Regions from separate parts of the Homo sapiens genome. Here region 1 is linked to region 2. The links are contacts of gene promoters, found by promoter capture Hi-C in blood cells and fetal thymus (Javierre and others, 2016). All regions are on one chromosome and are shown on one strand. Each heading gives the region's core, a stretch centred on a gene start or on the middle of the fragment in contact. The rest is flanking DNA. Distances are from core to core; before and after follow the strand shown. Region 1 overlaps CCDC15 (coiled-coil domain containing 15). Region 2 holds the start of CDON (cell adhesion associated, oncogene regulated).

Region 1 (3,167 bases), core at 527-3,026, 1.1 Mb before region 2:
GTTTGCACATATGTATGTATATTCATTGATTTATTCCTACCCTGCCTATTTCCAAAAAGGATTTTAAGAGTCTAGGTGGTATCTCTATCTAAGTTCTAAGAATATAATGCTCAATCAAGAAGCTATGACGTTGGGTTGATGTGACCCAGGAAAGTGTAATGAAGAATTTGATCGGAGAAGGGAAGGGAATGATTCTCCTATTAAGGAGAATGAGGAGAGTAAGAAGTAAGCAAGGTTCAGGATTCTAAGGGTAGATTAGATCGATTGGAGTGGAAAGCTTAGTAGGAGAATGGTTGCTGACAGGATTATGGAAAATAGGGATGGTAGAGTACCTTAGGAAATTTTGGAGAAGGGATTGACTTTGTTTAATATTTACAGGTGAATGTCATGATCAACCAGTGTTTTCTTTAGATGAATTGCTTCAAAGGTTTTGAAGGATAGGGAGTGATTGGATCCTGGGGATAAATTAGAATATAATTATAATAATTTAAGCATGGAGTATAGCATCGAAACTTTGTTAGTGGTAAGAAATAGAGAAGAACAGCCTTGAAAAAGGATGATTGAAGTGCTTGAGCCCACGAATTGTAGGCTGCAGTGAACTATGATCATACTACTGCACTCTAGCCTGGGCAATAGAGTGAGACCCCATCTCTGGAAAAAAAAAAGGAGTGGAATGAGAAGGGATGAATGCAGGAAACACCCCACAAGACTTGGTAAGATTTGGTATAAAGATATTTTGGTATTTAAGTTGTTGACACCTCTTTGTAATTGCTCAAATTACATCTGTATAATATCAGTAGTGTCAACATGCCTAAAATTTGACACCATCAAACTTTTTCTATGTTAAGAAGTATTGACTATCGTATTCACACACATTAACTCAAAATATTAAAGTCTTGGAACATGGATAAACATATCTCCTTTTCCTGATTTAAAAATTTCTGATCAGTTCCAGCCAAAGGGAGTTTGATCAAGCATCTAATAGAACTCCTTATAGCTTTAGCATATCTAGTCTGGGTATCCACCCTTATTAACGGATATAGCTCTGTCAGCTCAAAATAAATGCTGAATAGTTACTTCTAAAGCTTGGCCCTTAGATCATGTCTGTTCTAAAGGGGAACTTCTACTCATTTTTCTCCCCAAAATTTCAGGGGGCCATCAGGATTCCTAAAAATGTCATAGCTTTAGACTACCTCCCCCCAATAATTATTAATAAATTAGCATCAAAAGACACTGCTGTTCTATCATCATATATGGGATTGCATTATTTTATAATTTGTTCTGGTTACCTTTTGCTGTGTAACCAACCACCCCAGAACTTAGTGGTATAAAGCAAATAATACTATGTAACAGGAATTTGAGCAGGGTACAGTGGTAATGGCTTGTTTCTGCCCCATAGTGTCTGGGACCTCAGCTGGGGCTCAAATAACTGGACATGTCTGAGACACCTTGACTATTTTCCGGCTATTGGCTGGAGCTAGACAATAGTCAAGTTCTCCCAGTAATGTGGCACCTGCTGGGCTGTAATGTCCAAGATGGCTTTCTTATTCACATATCTGACGCTTGGCCTAGGATGACTAGAATGTCTGGGTGCTGGTTAGATATGTTTCTCTTTTCACATGGCTTCTCTGTTTGACTAACTTGGGCTTCCTCACAGCATGGTAATCTCAGGGTAGTCTGAATTTTTATATGGTGCTGACTTCCTTCAGAATGAGCACTCTAAGAACAGAGGTGGAAGTTTCTTTATGACCTGGCTTGTAATCTTGTGGAGTAAAAGAGGAGCAGAGAAAATGGAGGTAAAAGAAAGAGGCCGAATGGCTTAAACTTGTCTGGGGCTTGAGTTAAGCTGGGTCAGTTGTTCAGGCTTCATTACGTATATATCTCTCCGTTGGAATTATTTTACCTAATTGTTCTTTGACACTTGTACACTCCACTAGAGTAGTTTATGGGATAGACATCTTGGAAATTTTAACTTAAATTGAAATTTGAATGCATTTGATTTTGAGAATTTAATGACAGCCTGTAAAATGATCTGAGGTACCCTTCAGAATTAGAAGTTGGAATCACTGAGTTAGAAGGAATAGGTACGAGATATGATGATGATTTTATTTAATTTGAAAATTCCTAGTGAAAGAGAGACATAGTCAAGAGAAAAGCAGTGTAGAGAGGAACATAATTGTTGGAGTCAGAAACTTCTAATTCTGCTACTAGTTAGCTATATTAAAATTACTTAATCTTTCTGAACTCCAGCTTCCTCATCTGTAACATAAGGGATAAGAATACCTACTGCCAAAGGTGGTTTTGAGGATAGAGTGCTACAAAGTAGTTAAAATACTTGTCACCTGATAGATCCATAATAATGATAAGTGCTGTTATGATGATGACTATGATTATTATTCAAAGCACTTAGAGGAGATAAATGCAGATCAAGAACTCAAATGGGATAAAGTGTTCCAGATTGTTCAGAACAAGCTTGTCCAACATGCGGCCATGGGCCACATGTGGCCCAGGATGGCTTTGAATGCGACCCAATGTAAATTAATAAATTTTCTTAATTAACACTATGAGTTTTTTTGTGATTTTTTTTTTTCTCATCAGCTACTAGTGTTAATGTATTTTATGTGACAGTTCTTCCAACATGGCCCAGGGAAGCCAAAATATTGGACACCCCTGGTTTAGAATATGTTTTGGAATTGAGCAATTATATAAATATATATTGACTACCCTTATAGTGAAGGCTCTGTACTAGATGCCGTAGGGGAAATAAAGGAGAATTGAATACATATCCTGTCCTCAAAGAGTTCATAATCTAGTAGGGGAGTCAAGAAGTACTATACTCAGTTAACATTGGTGAAATGAGAGGTGTTATAGCATAAGAGGGCTTAGAGAGAGAGTGTTGTGGAAGGTACTGGGGAGTGGGTATTAAATGGTTGTGAAAACTGAATAGGCCTTTACTAGGTGGAGATGAAAGGAAGGGCATGCCAGGTTAAAAATGGAGCATAATGCCAAATATGAAGACATTTTAACAATAGGACATATTTGGTGAGTGGTAAGTAACCTGGTGTGTCTTGACTATTTACTCCATTTTAGAAAATGTGTAACGTGTTAGGTTTTATTTGGTTCATTAAGATTTAATGAAGACATCGTTAGTTCTAATTCAATAAAAA
Region 2 (2,909 bases), core at 312-2,811:
CAGTATTTGGTGCTTCTCGGGTTCCAAAGAATGCTTTCTAGTTAAGCACTAATTTAAAATTTCCAGAAAATTTTTTGAAGGTTTTCTTTCATCTTATCTTAAAAGTTGAACTATCCCCAAATTTTCAGCTAAAAATAGACTGAGGGTGGGGGAGAACTACAAAATGTCATAGAATGTTTAGAATTATGCTGACAATAAACTCATTTCATTTTCTAACACCCTCCCCACCTTCCTCTCCTTGGAGACACTGTCCACTAGGTATGCCAAGTGTCAGTTGGGAATTTGAGGGTTATGTTATCAGCGCCGAAAGGAATCAGAATTCACTGACTTGGCGTCTTTCATCTTTACTGGCATAGGCCTGAAAATAAATCTCATGTGAGCTTTTAGTCCAACCTCCTGTTTTTCAAGGTGTCTGGTTTGGGACACAAAGGCTGACTTTCTGTTGATGAGGTTCTCTAAATTCTGGATTCCCACTGGAAAGCAGTCTGCCCTTAAAGCACCTGCCACCCTCTGTCGTCCTGATGAGGAAGGGCAGGCATTCTGGAAACAGCTCCTTTTGGAGAGCCTTCCACCTGATTTGGTGGGGTTAGGGAGAACAATGAAGGGAAGGGCAAGAGAGTCTATCTATCCCCCTCAGTGATTTATTGCTGAAATTCCTAGATGTGGAGAGAAAGCAACAAAGGTCTGGAAGCTGCCGACTGAAATAAATAGCGAGCTGTAATGTATTTAGCAAATGATAATGCAATCCACAGAAAGCTTTACAGAGGAGAAGGAAAAATACACTCCCTGGGGCTGGGAAGTCAGTGAGTCTTGTGAAGGCAGAGAAAGATACATTGTGCAGGAAATTTCTCTTGCTTCTCCCTACACATAAATCACTGTCTCTCGCGGGCGCTCTGCAGGGATGGAGATTGAGAGAGGCCAGGGACCCGGCTCCCTTGGGAAAACGCGCGGGCGCCCTAGCTCCCCGCTCTGCGGCATCTCACCTGCCCCCGAGGACCATCGTCAAGAAGAGGTTTCGTCGTGTCACTGACACCTCACCCCGCCTCCTCCCGCGAGGTGCCTCCGAGCCCCCGAGGACGCGGAACGCCGGGGCTCCCCGCCGGGCAAGCATCAGCATCCAGACCCCGCACGCAGCCCTGCACCCCCACGCCCTCCAGGGAACGCCGGCCCGCCCGTCCCCGGGACCTCCCGTCCCCTAAGCCAAGGCCCCCCAAGCCCAGTGCCCGCGCGCCACCCCTCCCTCCGACCCTGCGGCGGGACCCCCACCCCCGCACCTCTCCGCGGGGCTGGCTAAGCCTCCAGACCTCCTGCGCTGCAGCCGGCTCGGAAAGCCACCCCCAGGTCATCCCCCCGCGCGCGCGCGGCGGCGGCTACGGTGGCGGCGGCTGCGATCCGAACGGGCCCCTCCATGCACCGCGCAGGGCAGAGGAGGGAGCGGCGCCTCGCACGCCGGGGCTGGGGCGCTGGGCAGGGCGGGCGGGCGTGGGGTCCCGGGTCTCCTCGCACCTAGCCGCGCGAGCCGGGCTCCCGGGCTCAGGGGAGGGGAGCTGAGGGGCGGAGTCACCGGGGCGCGCCCCCGCGGCTGCGCTCCTCCCCGCCGGGGAGCGCGGGCACGTAACTCGGAGGGTGCTGGGCCGGCCCGGAGCACGCGAGCAGCGGGAGGAGGGACCGGGGAATGACTGACGGAGGCGGGCCGTAGAGGCCGCTGTGCCCCGCCGGCCCGCACCCGGCCGGAGTGTGCGCGCGCAGCCTGCCAGATCAGCGGCGGGGGCACGGGCCGTACCAAGTGACGGAGGGGGGCACGCTCTGGGCAGGACCCTCTCCTCGTCATTGACCTGCCTACTCTGCAAGAGAGATACCCCAGGGGAGCATAGAAGAGGCTTTTCTTGGGTGTAGGACAGGTAAGGGTGAGTTGCCTTACCAAGTCACGGAGATTCCCATCATGCCTGCACTCACGCTCCCCTCACCTTTCATTCCCTTGGAGAGACGGCTCTTCTGGCAGGTCTCCAAATGGTCGACTCTGTCCCCCGAGGCCCCGCCCTAGCCTCGTTCGGGCCCCGCCCTAGCCTCGTTCGGGCCCCGCCCTAGCCTCGTTCAGGCCCCGCCCCTCGCCCCGCCCCGCCCCTCGCCTCTACCTAAGTTCTCTGAGCCGCCAACGGGTGCATCCCTTCTCCCGGTTCTTGCCTGGTCTCTCTTAGGGTTCCAGCGGCCCACCGCTTATACCTCCTTCGCCTTTCCACCACTTTCCATGTTTAATTCCTTAGGCAGCTTCATCTGATTCCCCCACCACCACCCACCCGCCCTGCCTGCACATAAACGCAAGCAGGTAGCAAAACTCAGGGGCTAGGAGAGGCGTGGTGTGAGCCTTTGGCCCCAGAGTCTTTCCAACTCGTCCGTTGGACCTGCCCCAAGTTATCTGAACTCAATGAACTTCAGTTGTTCAAACAGAAAAAGGAAAAATAAATTTCTATTCAAAATGTTGCTGTGAAGCGTAAATACGATACTTTGTGAAAAGCACCTGCCACTCAGTGGGCATTCAAGGACTGTAACTTCTTTATAAATTGTTATTATTAGCAGTTAGCTCTTTTTTTTCCCCATCATCATTACTTACTATTAGCTTAACTACAAAAGGATCCCTAATAATAGTTAAGTTTATAAATACTCAGTACTGAACTTCAGGAGAAATATGCCAGTCCTCCCTTACCTTCTTACGTGAATTTTAAAAAGAAATGCTTTGAAAGTGTGGTATTGTTCAAGCAGGTTAGCTTTCTGCATTAGCTAGATTCAGGGTTTTTGTAAAGCCCCTGGAAAGAAAGTCAGTACAGGACGGAAAAAAAAAACACAATTTTTTTTCTTAAGACGGAGTCTCACTCTGTCGCCCAGGCTGGGGTGCTCTTGTTGCCCAGGCT

Evidence for each region. The method cuts DNA at HindIII sites, captures the fragments that hold promoters and counts their contacts. A CHiCAGO score of 5 or more calls a contact.
Region 1: a contact is called between a fragment that was not itself captured here and the fragment with the promoter of CDON in region 2, in 1 of 17 cell types (activated CD4 T cells). The highest score is 7.5, in activated CD4 T cells.

Annotation. Positions count from the first base shown.
Region 1 is chr11:124,955,789-124,958,955 of GRCh38, forward strand. All of the region lies in intron 2 of CCDC15 (coiled-coil domain containing 15), which reads left to right. Among named protein-coding and RNA genes, the nearest start is that of CCDC15, 3.2 kb to the left of the region's middle. The HindIII fragment of the contact is 1,387 bases long and covers 1,084-2,470 here.
Region 2 is chr11:126,061,305-126,064,213 of GRCh38, forward strand. It overlaps CDON (cell adhesion associated, oncogene regulated), which reads right to left and starts at 1,562. Exons shown (of 20, transcript NM_001378964.1): 1 at 1,275-1,562. RefSeq lists silencers at 1,320-1,989, 2,060-2,149. The HindIII fragment of the contact is 2,855 bases long and covers 755-2,909 here.